Linked DNA regions of Homo sapiens: all the other regions are linked to region 4. Evidence: promoter capture Hi-C in 16 types of primary human blood cells and fetal thymus (Javierre and others, 2016). All regions are on one chromosome and are shown on one strand. The core of a region is centred on a gene start or on the middle of the fragment in contact, and the rest is flanking DNA. Distances in the headings are between cores, read along the strand shown.

What was found. The method cuts DNA at HindIII sites, captures the fragments that hold promoters and counts their contacts. A CHiCAGO score of 5 or more calls a contact.
Region 1: a fragment that was not itself captured here is called in contact with the fragment with the promoter of CNOT4 in region 4 in 3 of 17 cell types (non-activated CD4 T cells, fetal thymus and monocytes); the score reaches 7.2 in non-activated CD4 T cells.
Region 2: a fragment that was not itself captured here is called in contact with the fragment with the promoter of CNOT4 in region 4 in 2 of 17 cell types (M1 macrophages and M0 macrophages); the score reaches 7.8 in M1 macrophages.
Region 3: a contact is called between a fragment that was not itself captured here and the fragment with the promoter of CNOT4 in region 4, in 1 of 17 cell types (M0 macrophages). The highest score is 5.0, in M0 macrophages.

Annotation. Positions count from the first base shown.
Region 1 is chr7:135,654,126-135,660,940 of GRCh38, forward strand. It overlaps the pseudogene RPL15P11. Among named protein-coding and RNA genes, the nearest start is that of STMP1, 5.0 kb to the right of the region's middle. The HindIII fragment of the contact is 4,314 bases long and covers 3,300-6,815 here.
Region 2 is chr7:135,276,208-135,282,992 of GRCh38, forward strand. All of the region lies in intron 3 of LOC107984123 (a long non-coding RNA gene), which reads right to left. It also overlaps the pseudogene SLC23A4P. Among named protein-coding and RNA genes, the nearest start is that of STRA8, 46 kb to the left of the region's middle. The HindIII fragment of the contact is 5,322 bases long and covers 1,468-6,785 here.
Region 3 is chr7:135,256,973-135,263,917 of GRCh38, forward strand. It overlaps LOC107984123 (a long non-coding RNA gene), which reads right to left. Exons shown (of 6, transcript XR_007060540.1): 6 at 741-6,909. It overlaps STRA8 (stimulated by retinoic acid 8), which reads left to right. Exons shown (of 9, transcript NM_001394401.1): 9 at 1,446-1,691. The coding sequence ends at 1,520. Among named protein-coding and RNA genes, the nearest start is that of STRA8, 27 kb to the left of the region's middle. The HindIII fragment of the contact is 8,504 bases long and covers 1-6,945 here.
Region 4 is chr7:135,507,356-135,513,716 of GRCh38, forward strand. It overlaps CNOT4 (CCR4-NOT transcription complex subunit 4), which reads right to left and starts at 2,747. Exons shown (of 12, transcript NM_001190850.2): 1 at 2,534-2,747. RefSeq lists enhancers at 1,817-2,722, 2,493-2,692, 2,723-3,627, 3,003-3,122, 3,273-3,442 and a silencer at 2,693-2,932. The HindIII fragment of the contact is 7,472 bases long and covers 396-6,361 here.

The DNA.
Region 1 (6,815 bases), core at 4,207-6,706, 150 kb after region 4:
GGTGATCTGCCTGCCTCCACCTCCTAAACTGCTGGGATCACAGCACCCGGCCTTCCCAATTATTTTGAACAATTTTAAATCTTCAAAAGAGTTGGAAGAAAGGTACCATGAACCCATACAGTTTTCACCTAGATTCGCCAGTTGTCAACAGTTTGCACATTTGCTTTTTTTGTGTGTGTGTATATATATATATGCTAGTTTTCTTCCCTAAATTGTAGACACTATGACACTTACTAAATATGATGACACTTACTTGCTAAATATTTTAACAAGTAAGAACAAGGATATTTTCCTTCCTAACCACAACACCATTATCATATCCAAGAAATTTGACAATAAAATACAATAAAAATATCTAATCTGTCCATTAAAATTTCCTCAATTGTCCCAAAAATGCACTTTATAACTTTTTTTTTTTTTTTTAACCCGGGATCCAATTAAGAATCACACATTGGCCGGGCGCGGTGGCTCACGCCTGTAATCCCAGCACTTTGGGAGGCCGAGGCGGGCGGTTCACGAGGTCAGGAGATCGAGACCATCCTGGCTAACACGGTGATAACCCCGTCTCTACTAAAAATACAAAAAATTAGCCCGGCGTGGTGGCAGGGGTCTGTGGTCCCAGCTACTCGGGAGGCTGAGGCAGGAGAATGGCGTGAACCCGGGAGGCGGAGCTTGCAGTGAGCCGAGATCGCGCCACTGCACTCCAGCCTGGGCGACAGAGCAAGACTCCGTCTCAAAAAAACAAACAAACAAACAAAAAAAAAAACCACATTATATTTAGTTATCCCTTTTTTTTATTTTTTGAGACAGAGTCTCACTCTGTTGTCCAGGCTGGAGTACAGTGGCTCGATCTTGGCTCACTGCCACCTTTGCTTTCCGTGTTCAAGTGATTCTCGTGCCTCAGCCTCCTGAGTAGCTGGGATTACAGGCGTGCACCACCATGCCCAGCCTATTTTTGTAATTTTTTTTTTTTTTTAGAGACAGGGTTTCACTGTGTTGGCCAGTCTGCTCTCGAACCCCTGGCCTCAAGTGATCTGCCCACCTCGGCTTCCCAAAGTGCTAGGATTACAGGTGTGAGCCACCACACCTGGCCCAATATTTAGTTATCTCTTTAGTCAATTTTTATTCTAAAACAGTTCCCTGGCTTTTCGGAGGATGGGAGGCTTTTATAACTGACATTTTTTAGCTGTTTTGGAAAAGGTCCTACAATTTGTTTTCTTTTAAACAGGTTAAACAGTTGTGGCCAGAATACCACACTTGTACAGCTGATATGTGCCTTCAGTGTATCACATCAGGAGGAGGTGCATATCAGTGTGTCCAATTATATTAAGCTTGACCACTTGGTTAAGGTGGTATTTGACACACATCTTTGTTGTAAAATATGTGTTTCCCATTATAACAAGTGATCCATGGAGGGATACTTCAAATATCTTGTTCTTAAAAAACCTTGCAACCGGGATGGGCCCCCGGCCTTTTTTTTTTTTTAAGATGCAGTCTCGCTCTGTTGCCCAGGCTGGAGTGCAGTGGCACGATATCGGCTCACTGCAACCTCCATCTCTCGGGTTCAAGCGATTCTCCCGCCTCAGCCTCCCGGGTAGCTGGGACTATAGGCACATGCCACCACGCCCAGCTAATTTTTGTATTTTTAGTAGAGACAGGGTTTCACCATGTTGGCCAGGATGGTCTTGATCTCTTGACCTCGGGAACCACCCACCTCGGTCTCCCAAAGTGCTGGGGTTACAGGCGTGAGCCACCGCGCCCGGCCCAGTTGTCATGCTTTTTAATTTTGCCAATCTAATGGGTATAAAATATTATCTCAATTGATTTGCATATTTTGTGTACCATTCTTTCCCCCCTTCAAAAGGCTTTACCCATTTTTTTTTCTATTGGGTTTTTTCTTTTTGATGTGTATGAGGTAATTACACATCCTGAATTTATATGTAATTGCTTAATTACACATGGCTGAATTGAAGCCATTCAGAATGGCTTCAATTTTTTTCAGTTTTCTCTTTTCAGACAACCAGTCTGTTGGATTATCTTTTCAACTTTTTTATGGTATACTTGTTTACATTTTAATGTGTCAAATCTTTTCCTTGATGGTATGTGCTCTTTATCTAAAAATTTTCTCCCACTTGAAATCATAAAGATACTCTTCTGTATTTTCTTTTGGCATTTAAAAATGTTGCCTCCTCCTTAGGTCATTAATTTCTCTGGCATTGATATTTGTGAATGGTATAATCTACGTTTACTTTTTTCCATATGGATAATTTTATGATTTATTGAATAGCACATTCCTTCCCACTGATATTTTTGTCAATGCCTCAAATGGTAGCATACCAACACCTTGCTTTTTTCACTTGAGGATATTTCCATATCAACACATAAAGCTCTTTTCTCGTGCACAAGTATTTCAATGTAGATATATAGCATGATTTTAATCGTTAATTTATTGGTTAACATTGTTTCCAACCTTTTTCTACAATGAATGTTTTTGAGCATAATTTCAGCAATTGCTAGGAAAAAGTTATGCTTATTTAAAATTATAGTTCTGGCCAAACTGCCTCCATGAAAGTTTTAACAAATCATTCTCCCCTCAATGTTGTGTAAACTGTGCCTGTTCCCCTACTTCTTCCAACACAGTATGTTATCAAGCTGTTTAAATTTTATTTTATTTTATTTTTTTTGAGACAGGGTCTCACTTTGTCACCCAGGCTGGCATGCAGTGGTGCAGTCACAGCTCACTGCAGCCTTGACCTTCCGGGTTCAAGCGATCCTCCTGCTTCAGCACCCCCAAGTAGCTGGACTACAGGCGCACATCATCACAGCCAGGTGATTTTCGTATTTTTTTGTAGAGATGGGGTTCCACCATGTTGCCTAGGCTGGTCTCACACTCCTGGACTCAAGTGATCTGCCCACCTCAGCCTCCCAAAGTGCTGGGATTACAGGTGTGAGCCACCGCTCCTGGCCAAGCTTTCTGATTTTTGCCAATCTGGAGAAAAATGGTACCTCATTATAGTATTAATCCACATTTCTCTTAGTATTAACATAAATGCCACCCACAGGATCTTTTCATATGTTTGAACCATTTGTATTTCCTTTTCTGTGAACTGTTCAAATCCTTTGGCCATATTTTATTGAGCCATTGGTCTCACTGATTTGTAGCAGATCTTTATATAAAGGAAGTTAGCACTGTCACTTATTTCACAAAAAGTGTTTACAGAATTTTTAAATTTTGATGTAGTTGATTTTCTCAATCTGTTATGGCTTCTGGGTTTTGTATCATGTTGGCGATGTGAAAAAGCTTCCACTCTCATTTGTAGATTATAAAATAACTTCTCTCTTTTACTCTTTTAATATTTTTTGTCTTGTTTAAGCTGTTACTTATGTGTGCAGTGCCATTTATGTTATCTGTAATTTATGTGCAAAGTGTAAAGTAGGAACCCAACATCATTATTTTTTCCACGTAATGATCCTGGTTAGATGAGTATCATTTGCTGAATGATCCATCTTTTCTCCATTTAGTGCTTAGAATCACTGGTATGGGACTGGAAAAGGTGGAGATCAAAAATTAGAATTTTAAAAGGCAAGTATCAGAGAAGACCACTGGATAAGAGAATTGAGAGTAACGGTCCTTAAAGTGCTGGTCTCTTGGGGTATAGACTAGACAGAAAAGGACTGAAGCCTTCCAGAAGGGGGCTCATAGCTCATGAGAATATGGAATAGCTGAGTGGAGATCTGGCTAAGGTCAAAGGGCTGATAGGAGAGGAGGTAGGATTTGGGAGTATACTTCACAGGTCTAGGATATGACAAAGTGTTAACGATCACGGTAGAGCACTGCTGAAGGGGAGTGAAGGTGAAGGTCACTGGAAGGAAGGAGATCTGGAAAGTACAAGTGCATATGGCCTTGAAGTCACCCAAAATTACGATAATGTGGCACTGAAAGGAAGGCTGTGGGTTAGATGCCAAAGCCTTCAGTGAATGAGGAGACTGCCTCAGAAATCAACAGATTAAGACATTAAGAAGGGCTAAAGGTAGGCTGGGTGCGGTGGCTCACGCTTGTAATCCCAGCACTTTGGGAGGCCAAGGCGGGTGGATCATGAGGTCAGGAGTTTGAGACCAGCCTGGCCAACACAATGAAACCCTGTCTCTACTAAAAATATAAAAATTAGCTGGGCATGGTGGCGGGCGCCTGTAATCCCAGCTACTCAGGGGGCCAAGGCAGGAGAATCGCTTGAACCCAGGAGGCGGAGGTTGCAGTGAGCCGAGATCACGGCATTGCACTCCAGCCTGGGTGACAGAGCTAGACCCCACTGCAAAAAAAAAAAAAAAAAAAAGGGAAGGGGGAGCTAATGGTAAACAGGAAAGTAAAGGAAGTGTTTTTATATAAGGATATTGAAGGGATAATCTGGAAGTAGCAGTGGGGAACAAAAGAGTCCTGCCTTGCTTCTCCATGCCCTGTGTTTATTTAGAGAAAACACCTTTGAAAAAGCCTTAGAGGAAAAGCTAGGCTTCATTTAAGCCTTATCTTAAGGAGAGGATAAGGTTCTACGAAATAAATTTTAATAACTATCCTTATATTGCGTTCAGAGGCTGTGCCAGACACTTGTTGGGCGCTGAGGATGGAGTCATGAGCTCAACAGGTGAAGTCCTCACCCTCAGTGTAGCTCACAGTCCGGCATCTTGCAACTCAAAGTCTGGTCCATAGACCAGCAACATCATTTGGGGTTGAAAGAAATGCAGAAAGTTAGGCCCTACCATAGACGTACTGAATCAGAACCTGTAGTTTAATAAGATGCCCAGGTGATGTGAATGAAGATTAAAGTTGAGAAGCACTGGTTAAGTCTTGAGTGAGTCAAGTTTTAACCTGGACAGACTGGAAAGTATGGTGTGTTGTAGCCATCTCCTAGTATCCCTTCCCTCTTCCCTCTTGGCAGCCACTTTAGTTCAGAGACCCTGCCCTTTCTAGTTGTAGTTGATTGTGGAGCATCTGACACCATCTTGACCCATCAGTTTTCCTTTCCCTGGCATTCGAGAATGGCAAAGAGAGAGAGATCCTATTAGGAGTAAACTCAACTTACTTGAGTTTACTTGTTAAATGGTGATATGGTTTGGCTCTGTGGCCCCTCCCAAATCTCATCTCCAATTGTAATCCCTGTAGCCCCGACGTGTCGAGGGAGGGACCTGGCGGGAGGTGATTGGATCACGGGGGCAGTTTCCCCCATGCTGTTGTTCTCTTGATAGTGAGTGAGTTCTCAAGAGATCTGATGGTTTAAAAGTGTTTGGCAGCTCCCCCCTCCCTTTTTCTCTCCTGCTACCATGTGAGATATTCCTTGCTTCCCTTTAGCTTTCCACCATGATTTTAAGTATGCCGAGGCCTCCCCAGCCATGCAGAATTGTCAGTTAAACGCCTATCCTCTACAAATTACCCAGTCTTAGGGAGTTCTTTATAGCAGTGCGAAAACAGACTAATACAAATGGCTAACCACAGAGTGTCTCTATTGGTTAGCCATTTAATAAATAAACCCAGGTCGGTTGCTGTGGCAATATGCTGGAAAGCAGAAAAACCAGGAAGTGGGTGGGGGAAGACAGAGAGAACAATGAGAGATGTTTGGAGAAAAGCAGAAATAGGAAATGTTGATTAGATTTCTATAGCTTTCCTATTCCCTAGGTAAACTAAACATCCTAAATTCCTTCCATTGATTGAACAGACCCTCTTTTTGGCCAAAGGGACTCCAGAAAGACCTTAAAACTGAGTTCCCAGACATGATGGTACGGGAGGTCAGACATGCCTCGTTATATCCCCTCTCCTTTGCAGTTTAAATGCAACAACTGATCAGCATTAATGTTAAAACACAGACCAGGGGGAGTAAGCTCTTTCCTTTCTGTCTGGCAGCAGCCATCAGGTAAGCCAAAATGGATGCATACAAGTACATCCAGGAGCAATGGAGGAAGAAGCAGTCTGATGTCATGCGCTTTCTTCTGAGGGTCTGCTGCTGGCAGTACTGCCAGCTATCTGCTGTCCACGGGGCTCCCTGCCCCACCTGGCCTGATAAAGCACGCCAGCTGGGCTACAAGGCCAAGCAAGGTTACATTATATATAGGATTCATGTTCACCATGGTGGTCAAAAATGCCCAATTCCTAAGGGTGCAACTTATGGCAAGCCTGTCCATCATGGTGTTAACCAGCTGAAGTTTGCTCGAAGCCTTCAGTCCATTGCAGAGGAGCGAGTTGGACACAACTGTGGGGCTCTAAGAGTCCTGAATTCTTACTGGGTTGGTGAAGATTCCACATACAGATTTTTTGAGGTTATCCTCATTGATCCATTCTATGAAGTTATCAGAAGAAATCCTGACACCCAGTCGATCACCAAACCAGTCCACAAGCAGAGGGAGATGTGTGGGCTGACATCTGCAGGCCAAAGGAGCTGTGGCCTTGGAAAGTGCCATAAGTTCCACCACACTATTGATGGTTCTTGCTGGGCAGCTTGGAGAAGGCGTGATACTCTCCAGCTCCACCGTTACCACTAATATAAGTAAAGTTTGGGCCAGGCGTGGTGGCTCACGCCTGTAATCCCAGCACTTTGGGAGGCCGAGGCGGGCGGATCACAAGGTCAGGAGATCGAGACCATCCTGGCTAACACGTTGAAACCTCGTCTCTACTAAAAATACAGAAAATTAGCCGGGCGTGGTGGCGGGCGCCTGTAGTCCCAGCTACTCGGGAGGCTGAGGCAGGAGAATGGCGTGAACCCGGGAGGCGGAGCTTGCAGTGAGCCGAGACTGCGCCACTGCACTCCAGCCTGGGTGACAGAGCGAGA
Region 2 (6,785 bases), core at 2,879-5,378, 230 kb before region 4:
GCCAGTATTGAATTTCTGCCTGTGGAATCACCACAAGCAAAGAAGGCCAGATGTGGAAGACAAAATCATAGCCCCTTACAGAGGCCCGCGCCCTTCTCCCCAAACCTGTTGTTGGGGTGATCAGATCCAACACCAGGTCATGAGGGCGACAAAGTCTGGCGGAGTCAAAAGATTGAGAAAAGACAGTTTGAGAGAGACAAGTGGGACCAAGGGGCTATCGCAATTGTGGAAGCTGTGAAGGCCCCGAGCTCTGGGGAGCCCATGCTATTTATTGGTAATGCAACAAAGAAACAGGTGGTGAGAATGTGGAGGTTGAAAGGGCACATTGTATTAAGCCCATGATTTACAGCTGTGATGGTTTAGCATTTGCTCTGCTACTTGAGATAATGGAGAGCAGGTTCTTTTAACTCAAGATACAATTGATCCTGGGAGATCAAGGAGCCAGCAAGTCTAGACACATTCTAGAGCCACAAGCCCTGGATTCTATCCAAGCCATGAGGGATTTTATGCCCTAGGATTAGATTATGGTGCGGCAGGGCAGCCTTCCACCATTTAGCACAGAGCTTGGTGTTCCAAAGGCCACAAGGGGTTTTAGGCCCTGGACCCCGGACATGTTCCGAGACTCTTTTACATTATGTCAGACATGCAAGCCCTGCCTCAGCTTCTCCCAACACTCAGCTTTTCCCAACACCTGTGAATCTGTTTTCCTTTCTTTTCTATTTTTTTTTTTTTTTGAGATGGAGTTTTGTTCTTGTTGCCCAGGCTGGAGCGCAGTGGCGCAATCTCTCCTCGCTGAAACCTCCGCCTCATTGTGAATACAAATAGGATAATAATAATGAGCAGTCACGATGAATTATGGGTAACAACTTTGATGCTTTTTAAGGTTTGATAACATTCATGAAAGTCTTTGTAAACCACAAGAGTTTACCAATATCCAGGCCCTCCATTATTCTTTCTGGGTGACTCTCCACCAAAGAGAACGTACATGGCACTCCCTCCCCAGGGAGCACTTACATGGCAGAAATCCCCCACTGGATCCCGGCATTATTGCCTGCAGAATCCAAGAGGGGCAGGGCCACTAGGCAGTTAGTTGGAGCAACGGCCAAGGAGCAGATGAAACCCATGAGAAAGCCAGTCAGGCCTGAGAAGCCCACCAGCATCCGGACACAGGAAGTGACCATGATAGCACCCTGCAGCCGAAGGGGAGAAGTGCTCAGGACTGTGGGCCTCAGCGCGGCCCAGGCCACCGTAACAGTCCCGGAGGCTGCAGCCCCTAGGCGCGGCCCAGGCCACCGTGACAGTTCTGGATGCTGCAGCCCATGGTGAAATCTGGTGACCCCTAGGCGGTTCTTAGGCAGTGCAGGGGCAAAGCTGGACCCCAAAGGAACTGAGAGAAGGAGAACTCTGATTTCCCTCCTCCCTCCAGTCTGTATTTCCAACTGCGTGTTGGACTTTTTCGCTGAACAAAGCTTTTCAGGAAATAGGCTTCAAAATTAATTATTGATTGTAGTCACAATGATGATGATGTTGGCGACTCCCAACACTAGCACACTCGGTCGTGTATTGAACATCTTGCTGCAGCATTTTTCTGTTTTCCTAGTTTCTATTGCAGAGGTCGGGAAACTTTCTGGGTTTCTTTGTTTTGTTTGGTTTTGTTTTGTTTGTTTGTTTTGACGGAATCTCACTCTGTCACCCAGGATGAAGCGCAGTGGCACGATCTCAGCTCACTGCAACCTCCGCCTCCCGGGTTCAAGCGATTCTCCTGCCTCAGCCCCCTGAATAACTGGGATGACAGGTGCGCGCCACCATGCCCGGCTAATTTTTTTTTTTATTTTTAGTAGAGACAGGGTTTCACTATGTTGGTCAGGCTGGTCTTGAACTCCTGACCTCGTGATCTGCCCGCCTGGGCCTCCCAAAGTGCTGGGATTGCAGGCGTGAGTCACCACGCCCGGCTATGCAAACTTTTTCTGTAAAGGACCAAAAAAGTGAATATTTTCAGCTTTATGCCCATACGGGCTCTGTCACAACTTTTCCAGACAAGATGTGAAGAAATGAGTGTAGCTGTGTTCCAATAAAACTTCACTTATAGACACTGACATTTGAATTTCAGATAATTCTGATGTGTCATGAAATGTTCTTCTTTTGATTTTTTTAACCACTTAAAATGTAAAACCATGCTTGGTCGTGGGCTGTCTGCTCTAAAGGAGGTGATGGGCCAGATCTGGCTCCTGGGCTGCAATTTGCCAACTTATCTGCTGGATTAAGTTTGCTTTATTTCCCCATTTTATTTTACTGTTTGGATGTTCGACTTGTTATTTTATTCTTTTAGAAGTTGCTCACAACTTTTTAATGTGAATTGTTCACTTAACACTGCCCATGGGTAAATAAAATGTCTAGTCTCCCATCAAATAGTACAGTGACCTTAGAAAACTTGAACTTCTACCACCATTCTGCTATTGTTGTCAAATATTTGTTTATTTTTCCACTGCCATTGCTCATTATTGTTTTTATTATATTTTCCTACAATTAGTGCTTATTTGGATTTACCTAGTACTGTGAAGTAAACGTTTGTGTTCCCTCAAAATTCATATGATGGTGTTTGAAGATGGAGCCTTTGGGAAGAAACTAGGTTTAGATGAGGTCATAAAGTGATATGGTTTGGCTGTGTCCCCACCCAAATCTCATCTTGAATTATAGCTTCTATAATTCTCACATGTTGTGGGAGGGACCTAGTGGGAGAACCGAATCATGGGGGTGGTTTCCCCCATACTGTTCTCATGGTAGTAAATAAGTCTCACAAGAGCTGATGATTTTATAAGGGGTTTCCCCTTTCACTTAGCTCTCATTCTCTCTTGCCTGCTGCCATGTAAGACGTGCCGTTCACCTTCCGCCATGATTGTGAGGCTTCCCCAGCCACCTGGAACTGTTTGGTCCATTAAACTTCTTTTTCTTGATAAATTACCCAGTCTTGGGTATGTCTTTATCAGCAGCATGAAAACAGACTAATACATAAGGGAAAAGCCCCTTTGATGGGCTTAGTACCCTTATAAAGAGAAGAGATTTTTCTCTGTCTTCTCTCCTCTCTCTCTCTGCATGTACCAAGGAAAGTCTTTGTGAGGACACAGCTAGAAGGTGGCCATCTGCAAGCCAGGAAAGGAGCACCCCTCAGAAGCTGACCATGCTGGCATCCAGATCTCAGACTTCCAGCCTCCAGTACTGTGAAAAAATAAATTTCAGTTGTTCAAGCCACCCAGTCTATGGTTGGTTTTTGTTTTTGTTTTGTAAAGACAGGGTCTCACTATGTTGCCCAGGCTGGTCTCGAACTCCTGGACTCAAGCAATCTTCTGGCCTTAGCCTATGAAGTAGCTGGGACTACAGACATATACAGGCACTGCACCCAGCTATAGTATTTTGTTGTGGCAGCCCAAGCTGACTAACCCACCTATGTTTTCTACCCATATGTTCCTCTGCTCACTTATAGCTTCTTTTCCACCACTCTTTCATTCGAGATTCCATTTCCTTTTTCCTGAAGTTTAGCTTTTAATAATTATTTTAATAAGGGTCTGTGACTGATAAACTCTTAGTCTTCGTTTACCTGAAAATGTCTTTATTTTGCTATCAGTGTTGCCTGATGTGGGGTTCTACAGTGGGATAGAATTCTAGGATGATAATATTTTCTCTTAGCATTTTGAAAATATTCCATTGTCTTCCAGCCTCTACCGTTGCTAGTGAGAAGGCTGCTAACTGTCCAATTGCTATTCTTTTGTAGGCATTTTTTTCTGTCTTATTACTTTTAAGATTTTTCTCTTTGTATTTGTATTGCAGTTTCATTATGATATATCTAATTGTAGACTTAATTGTTTATTACACTTGGGACTACATGTGCTTTTAAAATCTGAATATTCATATTTATCTGTTCCAAAATAGTATTAGCCATTATATCACTTCTAATACTATCACTTTTCCATTTTCTCATTATCACTTTCAGGAATTCCTGTTAGAAACATGCTGGACTTCTCAGTCTAGCTTCACATTTCTTAACTTCTGTTTCATATTTCTCATCCTCTATTTCACATTTCCCATCTTTTTATCTCTCAGTGCTGCATTCTGGATTATTTCCTTAGATAATCTTTCAATTCATGAATATCTCTTTAGCTGTGTCTAAATGCTGTTTAACTCATTAAATGCATTTTTTAATTGCAGTGACTTTATTTGTTTTTATTACTAAACTTCTATTTGGTTCTATGTTCAAATTTCCTTGTTCTTGTTTCATTTTATCTTCTAGATTATGGTTTCTATTGCTTCTTGAGTCTCTTTAATTATTTTAAACATATTGATTTACTATTATCTTTTAAATTGTTCTATTAGCTCTGGATTCTACTGATTCTCTCTCATAATACATTATTACCTGGTGTGAAATGACAAAATTTATGTCTGTGAACTCTTCTTCAGGGGCATTCTTTTTCTTCCCTGTGTCTTACGTGCTTTAGAATGTGGAAATATCCCTAAAGAATAATTGTACATTTTCTTCTGTGAGAACCACAGGTATTTTATTGGCAGGACCAGTTTTAGCTTTAATTTCTGAGCTTGCAAATCTTTCCACCACACCCATATGTGTTCACGTGTTGTAGAGTTGGAGTCCTTATTTTTCATGCAACTCCATATTCTAACACTTCCCACAGACCTCTAGGAAGAATAAAAGTTTCCTTGTTTATTCCCTGGAATGGTAGCGTTATTATTTCCCACGCTCACTGAAGTGGGTGCTCTTCCAGATCCCAGTTGATCATTACAACCCAAGCTCCTAGCCTTCGGTCCTATATCTGGGTCTGATTCTTTACCTAACCATCATAAGCCACATGATCCTGGCTATAATTCCCATCTTTGTTTCTAGAAAGTAAGGTTTTCCTCCTTGGTTTTGAACTTGATTCTGGATTTAATAACCGTTCATCCAGCATTTTCAGGTGTTGGTAATGTTTGTGGGTTCTATGTTAGCTCAAACTACCATGATACTGGAGGATGACGTTTAAATTGGTCTAAGGTGTTGAAAACTGAATTTGCCGTTTCTTCCCACGGTTTTCTACTTTTTCTGCAACCACCATTCCCGCAAAACAGAATCATCTTTCACTTTTCCCTCTCCACTACTTCTTGCATCCCAATGAGTAATGATAATCCTGTTGGTTCCATATTGCTGTCACTTTCATCTGTGGCTAGTATTGTGCTGTATAATTGGTCGGCTGACCGTCAGTGGTTTCAAACCTTGAGATGTGTGTGGATCAGTATAACTTAGTGAAACATGAGGAATCTATCTTCCCTTCCAATAGGCTGACTCGGTGAATAAAACCAATCAATCATCAATTAATAAGATGAAGTTGCAATTAGCAAGAACTTTCTCGTGTTTACAGCACTGGTGAAAAACATTGGCCCAGCAGAGGGAGCTAAAATACCACAGCTAAGACCCCAGGTTTGTGACACACTGTGTTGGACACTTGGGGGCAGTGTGGGTGAAGATGGCTCCCTTAGACCTGGGCCCTCTGTTTCAGAGCAACGATTGGCAAACTTTTTCCGTAAAAGGCCAGATAGTAAATATTTTAGAATTTGTAGGCCACATGTAGTTTCTGATGCACGATCTTTTTGTAAAACAACCTTTAAAAGCATTCTTAGTTCATGGGCCATTAAAGGAAAAGAGGTCACAGGCTGGATTTGGTCCAAGAGCCATATTTTGCAAACTGCTTTAGAGGATTCTACATATCACAAGCACAAAAGTAAACAGCAAATGTATTAAAGAAAATAAGAATGCCTCTGTCACTTGGAATCTAGTCCTCAGTGCTGGCAGGGCATGACCCAAATCCCTAAACATCCACTCTCACTACTGATACTGTTCAGGCCCCCAGGAACATTCCTTTCCATAACTGTTGTCCACCGTCCTCAAAACACAAGGCAACTGCTTCTAAATGCACTGAAGTTTTCTGTTTTTGCATTTTTAGACAGAGTCTTGCTCTGTTGCCCAGGCTGGACGGCAATGGCACAATCTCGTCTCACTGCAACCTTTGCCTCTCAGGTTCCAGAGATTCTCGTGTCTCAGCCTCCCGAGTAGCTGGGACTACAGGCGTGCACCATCACACCCGGCTAATTTTTGTATTTTTCATATAGATGGGGTTTCATCATGTTGGCCAGACTGATCTCAAACTGCTGACCTCAGGTGATCTGCCCGCCTCAGCCTCCCAAAGTGCTGGAATTATAGGCATGAGCCAACACACCCAGCCATACTGAAGTTTTTTCAGTTGTTCCATTGCAGTGATAGAGGCAGACATTGCATTAAAATACAGGAAGGATTTGAGCAGCAGAAGGGCTTAACTAGGAGTAAAGACGAATTAACTTGTCAGATCTTATTTCTTGGGAAGTAGGAAGGCAACAGATTCTTACATAAGGAATCGTAGTTCTCAGCGGGGCTGAGTGTAGGGAAACCCTGCCCTGGAATCTAGCAGAGCAGATGCCCAGTTTTAATTTGGATTTACCAAAGCCAAGTATAGGCTCCCCGGGGGACAGCAAAAAGCAACAAAAACAGGAAACCCCACAAACCCACAAACTGCATGTGTGCTGTGATTCATTCTATTGATGATACGATATGAATAGACTTCGCTGAAGAACTTCTTGATTTGGAAAAGGTAGTGCAGCACATACCGCTCTGAGATTGGACAACCGACCTGGCAAAACTCCAGGCCCCACCAGCTTGACGGGTGAAGGCCTTAGGTATATCTTGGTCTAGAGCTACATGGAACAGTTCT
Region 3 (6,945 bases), core at 2,084-4,583, 250 kb before region 4:
AAAAGTTGCATTCTCCTCCCAACCTCTGCCACTGTCTTCCTGCTGAACAAGGGGCCCACAAGATTTGCCTGGAGACTGTGGTCCCACCTCCCTGACACTCTTGATCCCTATTTCCCTGCCCCTATCAGGAGAGCATGGTGAATGGGAACTGCTTCTCCAGGGCAGGAAAGGCTCAGTTTGTGGAGGTCGTCCCCACTATGAGGATATCACCCTTGGGACCAGGTCCCACATTCATTAGATGGTTGACTGGGGTCAGGGATGCCACCTGGTTCCATGGGGATCAACTCTGATCTGCAGGGCTGACAAGTTACAGGGGTCATTTTCTGCTAGGATGGAGACAGACAGAAGGAGCAAAGCCTCAGGAACATATTTTTAGAGGAAGAAGTCATGGAGAGTCCTGAGGTGTTGGCTGGGATCACTGTTTACAGTGTCCCTTTAGGGACTGAGAAACCCTTGCTAAGCAAACAGTGCTGCTGCTTTTTTTTTTCACCCAGGATGGTGTGTAGTCATGGTGTGATCTTGGATCACTGCAACCTCTGCCTCCCAGGTTCAAGTGATTCTCATGCCATGGCCTCCCGAGTAGCTGGGATTACAGGCGCACACCACCATGCCCAGCTAATTTTTTTGTATTTTTAGTAGAGACAGCATTTCGCCATGTTGGCCAGGCTGGTCTCGAACTCCTAACCTCAGGTGATCCGCCTGCCTTGGCCTCCCAAAGTGCTGGGATTACAGGCATTGAGCCATCATGACCAGCTGCAGTGCTGCTGCTTAAAAAAATATCATCTCCTAATAGGTAACCCATATACATGGCATAAAATTTACAAGTTACCAAAAGATATACAATGGACACTTAGTCTCTCTCTCTTCCTTGCTTCCTACCCCATACCCTCCCCCAGAGGCAACTACAGTGACCAGTTTCTTGTACACTCATCCAAAGATATTCTACAGATATTATATATTCTTTCAAACACAAATAGTAGTAGCCTACGGTACACATTGCTTTGCACTTTGCCCTTTGTAAATAGTGTATCCCACAGAGAGCACGCTGTCTCATTATTTTTGTTGGAAATGAGCTGCATGGTGTTTCATTGGTGGGAGCACCGTGGTGCAGTGCACCGTCTTCTATTGATGAGCATTTGGATAAAGCCTTATGAGGTCCTCTGTCTCTCTTGTGGGAACCTGGAAATCCCCAGGATAAAAAAGAAGCCAGTTCTGCTGTGTCCTTTCTGGAGGTCATAGAATGCTGAGTTGAGTGAAATGGAAATGGGACCTTCCCCCCTTAGAGCCCTTGCTTCCTGGCCCAAGCTGGAGGTGAAAATGCAGCGGAAGAGACGTAGGATAGAGTCTGGGGGCTGGGCACACCGGAGATGCAGGAGCCTTCCTATCTGCCTCGGGCCCAAGACCCACAGATAAAAAGTGACCCTCTTCCACCCTGTGTCTTGCAGGAAGCATCCTTTCCCGTTGATGAAGAGATGATCATGTTGCAGTGCACAGAGACCTTTGACGATGAAGATTTGTAATGCAGAAGAGGAGCTGCGAGGGGAGGGACTGAATGAGGTGGGCAGTTCCCAAGGTTGAATGCTGGCAGCTAAGGTTGCACCTGCCTTGGCCTCCAGGACTCTTTGGAGTGGGTTGTTCCAGAAGCATTTTGATGATTTTAGTTTCTGATTATTATAAAGTATAAGAGAAGCACGGCCTCGTGTTGGTCTTTAGGGACTGTTTGGCACAAAGGGCTGGCCTGCTGCTATTGTGCTCCTATTAAGGGGGTAGAAAGTACAGCTGGGGCCCAGGCCATGGGCCTTTCAAGGAGGACAGGCAGGATCTGTCCTCGGAGGTGACATAACACCAGGTACTTTCAGCATGTCCTGGGCACAGGGCATTGCCCTGATGGGTTCTAGAGAGTTCCACAGCCCACCTGCTCATCCTGCACACTCTGAGAGCCAGGGGCAGTGCTGACCTCAACCCTGTGCCACAGGACAGCTGGGTGGAACCAGATTCATCTGCTGCTCCTGGTAATAAAGTCACCTGAACAGGAGCTACAGTGAGGTCCGAGGGTTCCGAGGGCTTTCTGGTGAGGCTTCTGGGCAAAGGGTGCATACGTGTACCTGGGCTTGGACACTGGGGGTGAGGGTGAATTTTATGTGTCAACCTGGCTAGTCTGTGATACCCAGGAATTTGGTCAAACATTATTTTAGATGTTTCTGTGAAGGTATTGTTAATGAAATTAACATTTAAGTCAGGAGACTTCCAGTAAAGCAGATGATCCTCAGAATGCTTCCTATAGGTTAAAGGCCTGAATCGAAAGAGACCGACCTCCCGGGAGAAAGAGGGAATCCTGCCAGCAGTCCAACTTTGGACTTGAACTGCGGCTCTTCCCAGCCTGCCGGCCCGCCTTGCAGATTTTAGACTTGCACCTCCACAACTGCATGGGTCCCTTCCTTAAAATAAATATTTCACCTCTCTCTTTCTCTGTATCTACGTATATACACATCTTATTGGCTCTATTTCTCTGGAGAACCCAGACTAATGCAGGGTGTGCGGGGAGAATGGGCTTGCATGGCTCTTTACAGTTTTCAAGGCATCATAGCAGCCCCTCCCCTGCACTGAGGCCCTCCCAAAGGCTTGGACTGTGTTATCTCCTAGCGAGAGTCTGAAACACCGGCTAAGTCTTAGGACCCAGACCCAGTCCTGTGTGACTCCAAAGCAGTCCTGAGATGCATGAGCCCGCACTCAAGGACTTCCCCCGGGGTGTGCAGGGATAGGAGCTTCGCAAGCCCTTCACAGCTTACAAATCACCGCACCGAGTGGGCAGAGGGAGGCTCTCCAGGAGCTGGGCAGGAAGGGCCTTTGTGCTCAGGGGCAGCTTGAACTCCTGCTGGAAAGACAGGAATGCAGGAGCTCAGGTTGGCCACCCCTAGAGGCTCACCAAGCCAGCTGTGTGGGAAAGAAGAAATGCAGCTTTACAGAGGGGCGTGCACATAGTAGGCCCTCAAGCAATGTATGCCAGTGCTAGCCAGCCCCTCCCTCTTTGTACCAAGCTCCACCCTGATCCTATTTAGTCCAAGGCTGCGACTTCATTCCTTGAGCCATACCTGCCAGCAGCCCCTAGTCAGAGAGGACCTCAGCAGGATGTGGAGGTGTCCCTTCCCCCCACAACCTTGTGCTGGGTTGTGAGCCCAACAGCCCTCTGCTTCTCTCCTGCAGCCTTGGGTATTGGCATAGCCTGGGATGGAGTTATTGCATAAAACTACCTTCACGTGGTTCTCAATCTCCCTTCCTCCCCACCAAGGACTTGTATCGGGAAGGTATCTTCCTATATCAGTCAGTACTGTAGCAATCAGAGTTCTGCAGAAAAACAGTGCCAATACGATATAGAGACACCGAGATTTATTTTAAGAAATTGGTTTATCTGTTTGTGGGGACTGCATGTCTGAAATCTGTAGGGCTTCCAGGAGGCTGGAAACTCAGGCTGGAGTTGGCAGTGCAGTCTTGAAAGAATGTCTCCTCCCAGAAACCTCAGTTCTGTTCTTACGGCCTTCAGCTAATGGATGGTGAGCCCCAATCACATCAGCAAGGGCAATCTTCTTAATTTAAAGTGGACTGGTTTGTTAACCACATCTATAAAATGCCTTCACAACACCCCCTAAAGGAGTGCCTGATTAGATAACTGGATACTATAGCTTGGCCAGCTTGACACATGAAACCAACATCACGGGTACCCCTTGGGGATTTTTATGTTGTTGTTGTTATAGCAGCTCCCTGTGGAGGTTGGGCCTCTGTTATTACTGCCATTTGACAGATGAAGAAACAATGATTTAACTGAAGCCCCAAACCATTTAATAGAAGAATCTCAGATCACCTCACCTCTAACTCTTTTTATCCCCAATAAGTTAATGAATGGGGAACAATTTTGTTGTTTAAAGTCACAAAAAAGCCCTGCCTCTAAAGAATTAGGATGTAGGAATGTGAAGCCAGCCCTTGGAGTTCACTCTGTCGGCCACTCTGTGCATCACCTCTAGGTGATGACTGGGAGGGGGATCATGGGAGGTCAAGTGGAGGCGGGAAGAAGCAAGATTGGAGGTGAAGGAGGGAAGCTGCGAGGCCGTGGCTCTAGGCACTGCATTATCAGAACAGGGGATTCAGATTCTGATAGCGACCTTGGAATGTGCAGAAAAAGCTCCAACAGATAAATGCTTATTGAGTGCAGATGGTGTGGGCGGGTGGTGGCTGGGCTGAGCTGACATCTAGCTTGGGTAACTCAGTTCCACCTCATGCTAATTGAATCAAGCTAATTACCCCAAGCCCATCTCGTCAATTACTTCTTATCCACCAGCTACTTCTCCAACCTTGATTCTGAACAAAACAAGCCTTTGTGCTTTTATGGAAATGTCAGAAATCTGTCCCTTCTTGCATATGCTTCTCACAAAGCTGCCTTGTTCCTGAAGCTCTGAAACTACGTGTTCTGACAATAAAAAAAAGTACAGCTGAGGGAAGACCAGGAGGCTGTTCCAGGAGAGGGCCTGGCTCTCTTCTCCTGCTGTTCATCCTGCTTTGGCTGCCTGGGGACAGCACGATACGAAAATAAAGTACAGGAAAACCCACTTGGAAAACTGAGCCTGGCTGCCTGGCAGCTGTTTGGTGAGAACATAGGGAATGTTCTGAAGTCCTGGAGCTGTCAACCAAAGGAAAAGGAACAAAGGGCAGAATGAGACAGGATGTGAAGGGCTTCTGTGGGCACAGAAGCAGTAGGGTAAGGAAAGAGGATGGGCCTGCTCTTGACTGGTATGAGAGGCATCCAGGACTCCTGGAGCAGCTAAGCGCAGGTCCTCAGCTCCAGCACATTTATTACAGCATGTTAGATGGGCGGGACCCTGTTACTTTAAGCCTACCATGGCACACACTCACAAAAGTCTCTTTTTAAGAAAAAAAATCTTTTTTTAAGATAGCAGAAATAACAGCAGGTGTGTATGCTGACATGCGTTACTGAAAGAAAGAGAAAACTTGATGCAAGATAGGAGACTTGTCGCAGTGAAACCCTTGAATAGAAATCAGGGAATGGGCTCTGGAGCACAAGGGGAGGAACCAGCTTCAGGGAGGAGCCAGGCAGCTCATTCACCCAACAGGAGGGAGAGTCAAGGGGCACCAAAGCTAGGAGTGGAGACATGCAGGTGTTTGCACAGTTTCTCATCTGATTACTCCTTTACAGATTTCTCTGAAATAAGAAGCTGAGGTTGGGTATGGTGGCTCATGTCTGTAATCCTAGCACTTTGGGAAGCCAAGGCTGGAGGACTGCTCGAGCCGAGCGGTTCAAGACTAGCCTGGGCAACATGACAAGACTCTGTCTCCACAAAGTATTTTTTAAAAAATTAGCAGAGTGCGGTGGCACATGCCTGTAGCCCCAGCTACACGGAAGGCTGAGACAGGAGGATCCCTTGAGCCCAGAGGTCAAGACTGCAGTGATCTGTAATCGCACTACTACACTCCAGCCAGAGTGACAGTGAGCGTCTCAAAAAAAAAAAAAAAAAAAAAGAAGAAGAAGAAGACAGAGGTGGAAAGAGTTTTAGCAGAGAGAGCCTTGTGCTTGGGAAAGGGTTCCTTCCTGCCAGGCGGCACTGAGGATCCCGTGAAGTTCAAAAAAAAAAAAAAAAAAAGAAGAAGAAGACAGAGGTGGAAAGAGTTTTAGCAGAGAGAGCAGTGTGCTTGGGAAAGGGTTCCTGCCTGCCAGGCGGCACTGAGGATCCCGTGAAGTTCAGGGTCTGAATCTAAAACCACTCCATTCAACTGTATGTTTTCCCCAGAGATGCTCAACTGCACGAGTGCAGGTGCAGAGTGAAGAGTTATTTCTCATCAGCGTTCAGGTTTTGCCAAGAGAGTGTAAAGAAGAGAGCAGACTAAGGGCGTTGCAAATGCGAGAAGGTGGTTATTATGACTGACTGTGGCATTGAGGTTGCTCAAGGAGGGAAGAGGGGACCAGCGGAAGGTGGGAGGACGGTAGATTCAGATCCTGGCCAATTAAAGAGTTATTAGACTTGGGGGACTAGAAGTAGTGAGCTGGAAAAATAGGAGGTGGTGGTCAGACAACTGCTTGAAATTGAGGATTGCAGGCACAGCTACTGGGAATCCCCAAGGCTAGTCTGAGATGTGGCCACAGAATGAGTAACTGAGATGAGCAAAGTCACACAGGATTCTTTCAGTGCCACTTCACCAGCCAGAAACTTCTGTGACCAGTGGCGCCTCTGACCAAGTTTTGCTCACAACTGCTGGGCTGGCTCTGCCTACTCAGCCCAGCAGGCTGTCCTCAGCTTGCACTACTGGCCCAGATCCCATTCCCATCATGGGTGAGCCAGGCGCGGAGTAGTGGGAGGTGTGTGAGTGAGCACAGGGTCCAGCCACACCACAGAGCCAGGTGCACCAGCTGCTGCAGAAGGGCAGGCAGCTCCAGGTGTCAGAACCATGTGAGGCTGTGGCTGGACCAGGTATGCCTCAAGTGGCTTCCACCTTGGGCACTGGCATCCCAACAAGGGGAACGCCGTGGTGCCTGAAAACTCAAAGACACCAGCAACCGTGGAGCTGCAAGAGGGTGTTACAGCATGTCACAGCTCTGGCTTGGGGAGCCCCAAGGTATGGGCCCCCAGAAGGGTCACAGATCTTCTCTTGTAGTCTGGCAAATAAGAGCGTGTCACTGCCCACAGCTTGGCAGGCTGGGCAGGAATGTGTTTCAGCTTGTTCATGTTACCGCTCATTCGGTCCCAATGCCCCACTCTAGCCCATGGCTCCTGGGCTGCTGGTCTGGTCACACCAACACTTCCTGTCATGTGGGGCAGCCATCCGGTGCCAGTGGAGGGTGGGACGGATACAGTGCTACAGCTCCTTTCACGCCAGTCCTTTGGTGGGCTCTGGGTTCTTGTTCTGCATCCAAGAAAAATAAGGTTATGCAGACAACCA
Region 4 (6,361 bases), core at 1,497-3,996:
AAAATATGAAGCTTCAGTGTTCATAACGTTAGATCAAAAAACTAAAACCAAGCAAAACTATTTAGAAATCTCAGCTCCCTATTTCCTATCAAAATGTTAAAGAACTTTAGATATCTTCTTTAAACGTACTAAAGATACAAAAGTAAATTCCTTTTGACTTCAGAGGGCTGAAATGAAGAATTCAGTAACTGCGGGCAAAAATTATGGAGGGGAAAGAATTACTTGAGAAAATATTTCGTGAGACAAATACCTTTTTTTAAAAAAAAAGATGTATTAAAATCACTTACTCCCTTCTACCAGACAAACAATCCTCTCCTAGAACTCACTGCTTACAATTCAGCCAAGTATGACTGCCAAGAGTTTCTAAACCTGTGTTAGGATTTTTAAAAGTGGAAAGCTTCTCCACCAGTGTATTACAACAAAAAGTATATTTTTTAGAGTTAAAGATCAACTATTAAATACACTCCTACTGATAAACTAAATGTAAGTGATTAAAAAAAACCCAAAACTCAACTTGTAACTTAGCACAAAGTTTGCTATATAAATTGCTTGCAGTTCTAAGAGTAGGTATTTATTTGGTCCCCCAAATTGGGGCTTAAGTGGCTGAAAGAAAAAAGTTTTATAAACAGCTTTTCTAACCTTAGTTTACATTTGGTAAAACAGACCATTTATCACAATCAAGTGAACATAATGCCAAATGTTAAGATTCCAAATTTTACAGGTAAAATTTGTAAAAATTACAATAACCCAGTAATGGACTGCCACATGAGACTGTCACTGATTTTAAACATTTTTACATATATCTTAAGAATACAATGTCATGTAAGTCATGTTTAAACTTGGGATGTATGTATTTGAACTATGTAATCTTGGTTGCTTTTCTGGTAATTCTTTATCTCACAGTGGTCTGATTATAGCCAGGGCTGCTTCTTCCCATTTTACCATTAGTCAGTACATCTTAATTTTGCTTTCACCAAAACATGGACATCATAAGCCACCTCTTGCTTCCAGTTTTCTGCTTTTTACTGTAGATAACAATGACAGTGAGTTCCACCAAATGCATGTATGTGCACAGCTTTGTCATTCTTTTCCCAGCCCCCTTCTTTTCTATGAGAAAAATACGAGGAACTTAGGTTTATATAAAAATGTCGATTTTTCTTTTGCATACATAACTAATGGATTTTCAAGACAAGACAATTTATTCTGATAACTATCATCCTAGAAATGTCAAGAGAACTTCCCAAATCCAAAAATAAGAAGAAAATCTGATATTAACTGGAGAGGAAATTTCCACTCAAATCATAAATAAAATGTCATCAATTAAGCTGAACATCAATAAAACTCAGTCAAAAATCAAGCCTCAATACAGAACCCACACATAACCCACATGTAATCAAAATATCACTTATATTTGCTAGCGGAGTTCACAGATGAATTCTGTATGTGCGCCAGATTTATCTTATTTTGTAATGCTGGGGTTAATATTTATTGGTATAAATCAGGGCCCACACTAAGTGTCCTGGGGAGAGGCAATCCAAAGAACGCTTAGTAGCATGATAAAACCGGTCCAAAACGAAAAAAAAGAAAAAAAGCCAAGTCCTAACACAACAGAGCGAATAAGCGACAAATAGATCACAGAAAGCAAAACGAAAACGGTCCTCTCCGGAGTAGCCTGAATAAAAGATCTTCACTCATAACGTTTAATAGTATCCTACCTCACTTCATTCACTTCCCAACTTCCTTTTACTTTTCAAGGGCCACCACGGGGCTTCCCTTTTTCTGGAAGTGTATATTGAAAGGATCTGTACAGGAAAGAGGGAAGGAACGGACAATTCTCAAGAAGGCTGAGAAACAGGTGGGTTAGCAGGAGGAGCATAATCTAGATACTTAAGGGGCAGCTTTAAGATGACAGATGTGGTGGAAGGAAAGACTGCAAATCGGAAGCAGCTCTAGTGTGGCAGATACACTGTGGGCTGATTGCAAGCACCAGAGGGGGGCAAAGGCTAACTCCAGAGTGGTAGCAGTGGAGCAAAAAAACAAGCAGCAGGACGAGTGGGCAATGAGCAGTGGGATTAATGAGCAGCAGCAGCCAACACGGATCAGAGTGGAAGTGATGGCTTTGGTCTTGGGAGACGGGGGCCAGAGGGAAAGGACGTCAGACAGGGAACAGGGGATTGGGGAAACAAGGAGGGCTGAGACCTAAGAATCCTGCCCCGGTGAAAATGCAGGGGGAAAAGCTGGAGACCAAAAGCCGCCTCGGCTCCCCAATTAAAGAAATTCTCGAAGGAGAGTCGCTGCTTGCCGCCGCGCTGCCTTCTGACCCGCTCCCTTTTCCTTATGGTAACTGCTGTGGCGTAAAGGGGAGAGGGAGGAAGAGGAGGAGGAGGAAGAAGACCAAGGAGGAGGAGGGTGAAGATGAGGCGGGGGGTGGGGAGAAAGGGGGGTGCGGCCTGTACAGTCCCAGCGAAGCCTCCGCTCTCTCGTAGCCGGTCAGCCCCGGGTTTCCCCTAAGCCCAGCCCCGCATAGACTCACCCGCCTGCCTTGCCTCGCTTTTCCCTCAGCCGACTCCACGGGCTGCCGCGTCCTCACAAGAAACCACCGAACGAGCGTCGGGGAAAAAACTCTTCAGAACCGGGCCTGATTGCTTCAGCGAGTCCGACCTTTACGGCTGAGAGAGAGACTCTCAGCTTTCGGTGGGTTCCACAGCCAGACGGGCCACCATCTTACATTAGGGTAAGACTCCTCCGGCCTCCCGTGCGCAGGCGCACGCTGATCCGGCCAGGAGGGGCGGGGGAGGGGCGGGAGGAGCGGCGGGCGGCTGAGTGGGAGGTTGCGGTGGCCGCTCCCGCAGCACCCTGGGAGTTGAAGTCCTCGGAGGGTAACCTCCCAGGGGCACGCCGGGAGTTGAAGTCCTCTCTCAGAGGGCGGAGGGGATCGCCCACCTCACGTGGCTGCTGGACTGATGCCTTTCTTCGTGTTTTGCTTCCTTCTCTGCACGCGTGTGCTGCTTCAATGTCATTTGGTCGGCGGTTTTCACTAGTGATTCCGTGTCCTCGGTGTTTGCGGAAATGTGCTACCCCAAGACTGGGGCGAGGCTAAACAGTTTTTCGGGGAGCCCGGAATGTTTATTCTCTGCCCCGCCCACCAGGGATATCTAAAGGGGGCGGGGTGGAGGTGGAGGCAGGTTGTGGGTACGAAGAGCGCGGGATTTGATCCAGGGTGAGAATTTGATACAGACTTGGCGTCTGTTTGCGAACAAGGAGGAAACAGGCGCCTGTTTAATTCATTTCCCTGTCCTTGCGCATTTGGGGCCACCACCCTTGATCCCTTCTTCACTGTAAAATCACCAGTGAAGACATACACTAAATTGTTCTGTGCAGATTACCCAAGAGAACGGAACACCCGTGCACTTACAATAACGTGCTTCTGTTGGTGTGAATTTGAGAATTTGCGGACCTCGGTGCAAATTAGTGTTAGTTCGGTGTCCAGCCAGCACAGCTGTGTGCAAGTTTACAAACTACACACATCGGCACATCCCCAAGAACAATAAATGCAGCCACAATCCCTACGAGCACTGAGGAATCATCAGTCACAAAAGTCAGTCAATGTACTGGTCGCCCCGTTTGCATCCCAGAACTCTGGTGGAAGTGGCGCTCGAAGCAGTAACTTTTGCTTATTGCATGTATTCTTCACCCACTCATACAGCAAATACTCAATGAGCTCCTCCTAGCTGCCGGGTACTCTTCTATATATTGAGAATACAATGGTGAGCAAAATAGAAAAAATTCCCTGTCCCTATTCTAGTGATGTGTTGGGATGAGGAAGAGGAGAGAAGAGGCATTATTTTAAAAATACGTGATTAAAATGCATAGTATGTCATAACCGATTTTAAAAACTTAAAGCAGGGAAGGGGAGTAGGGAAAGAGGTTGCAGTTTTAAATTTACGAACTTAATTTCATAATAAGCCCTCAATTCATTGTTTTTTCTTTTTTTTTTTTTTTGAGACGGAGTCTAGCTCTGTCACCCAGGCTGGAGTGCAGTGGCGCGATCTCGGCTCACTGCGACCTCCGCCTGCCGGATTCAAGTGATTCTCCTGCCTCAGCCTCCCGAGTAGCTGGGATTACAGGCACGTGCCACCACGCCAGGCTAATTTTTATATTTTTAGTAGAGACAGGGTTTCACCATGTTGGTCAGCCTGGTCTCGAACTCCTGACCTCAGGTAATCTGCCTGCCTCGGCCTCCCAAAGTACTGGGATTACAGACGTGAGCCAGGGCACCCGGCCTCATTCTTTTGGTACATTGGTTTTCTGTGTTTCAGTTTCCTCACTATAAACCTAGAGACAACAGTTACTTGGGTAAAAATTAAAATATGTAGTGAAGTCACATTTTACCCAAAGTTTGAAATTATAGAATCATGAAATGATTACCTAGCAAGGAAACTTGGGAAATTATTTGGATTTCCCTTTAGGTAATTAAATGCCTAAACATTCAATATGGTTGACATTTTTATTTAAAAATGTGTTTATTGTTCTTGTATATATTACTGATTCTATAGTAGTATATAAACAAAGTAATGAAAAGAACAAAATAAAAAGAAGCCTTCCCATTATGAAAGATTAGAATCATCACAGTAAAAACTGGAAGGGATCTTAAGCATCACCTAATCCAGTGGCAACCTTATCTTACCCAACATTCCTTTTTTTAATAAATGTTTTTATAATATGCTCTTTGTTAGCCTAAAATGAAATTCATAGGTATATAAACTACCTATATACATGATTTCATCTGAAATCAAAATGATGTGCTATTTATAATATAAATGATATGAAGAAAATATTTTATAATAAAATTGTATTTCAATATATAAATGCTCAGCATGACCATTCTAGAAATACAGTCAAGTCATGGTTTGCTAGCACTTATAAATAAAATATCCAACACTAGGGGGCAATGCCACCCCTGTATTGAGACTGACAGTAAGGAGGTGACAGTTCCTAGGTCACCAATTGTAAGAGTCACTACCATCTCAGGCCAGTACTCCTTTTACTATACTACATTGCCAGTTTTCATATGTTTATGTATGCATATGTGTATATATATACTATCATATAGACTTATGTATGTAACACTTCATTCTCATATAATTTTAAAAGTTAACATTAAATTTGGCCAGGTGTGGTGACTCATGCCTGTAATCCTAGGACTTTGGGAGGCTGGGGCGGGAGAACTGTTTGAGGCTAGAAGTTCAAGGCTAGCCTGGGCAACCTAGGGAGACTCTGTCTCTACAAAGATAAAATTTGAAAAACAGCTGGGTATGGTGGTGCCTGCCTGTGGTTCCAGCTACTTGGGAGGCTCAGGTGGGAGGATCACTTGGGCTTGGAAGTTGAGGCCGCAGTAAGCCATGATCATGTCATTGTCCTCCAGCCTGGGCAACAGAGTGAGACTCTGTCTCAAAACAAAACAAAACAAAACAAAAAACATTCAGTTGTATTACTTTGCTTACCTAATGATTCCTAAGTGTGGAACCTATCTATTCACTTAACAAATCTATTTTGCCTTTAGGCATTGTGCTCAATGCTGGTGGTATAGCAAAACAATGGTCAGCAAAACATGGTCCCTGTCCTCATAGAGCATAATGCCTAGTAGAAAAAGCAGAGATTAAATAATCATATAAATAAATAACTACAAGCATATAAACAGAATTTCATATATATGATTACAATTGGTCATGAGTACTAAGAAGATGTATAAAGGATGTTATGAGAAAGTTTAAGAGGGGAGCCTAATTTAGATTGGTGGGGAGAGGAGGGTAGTCTTTACCAGGTTGAGAGTGGAGAATATGCAGAGACAGGAGGTGGTTAAAAAAAACACTCACCACAGGCTGGGCACGATAGCTCACACCTGTAATCCCAGCACTCTGGGAGGCCAAGGCGGGTGGATCACCTGAGGTCAGGGGTTCAAGACCAACCTGGCCAACATGGTGAAACCCCGTCTCTACTAAAAATACCAAAAAAATTAGCCAAGTGTGGTGGCAGGTGCCTGTAATCCCAGCTACTCAGGAAGCTGAGGCAGGAGAATTGCTTGAACCCAGGAGGTGGAGGTTGCAGTGAGCCAAGATCACGCCACTGCACTCCAGCCTGGACAACAAGACCGAAACTCTGTCTCAAAAAACAAACAAACCTCACCATGGCCAGGCATGGTGACTCATGCCTGTAATCCCAGCACTTTGGGAGGCAGAGGCAAGCTGACTTGAGCCGAGGAGTTCGAGACCAGCCTAGGCAACCTGCCAAACCTGCCAAAACCAGCCTAGGCAACCTGCCAAAACCCACCAAAAATACAAAAAATAAGCCGGGCGTGGTG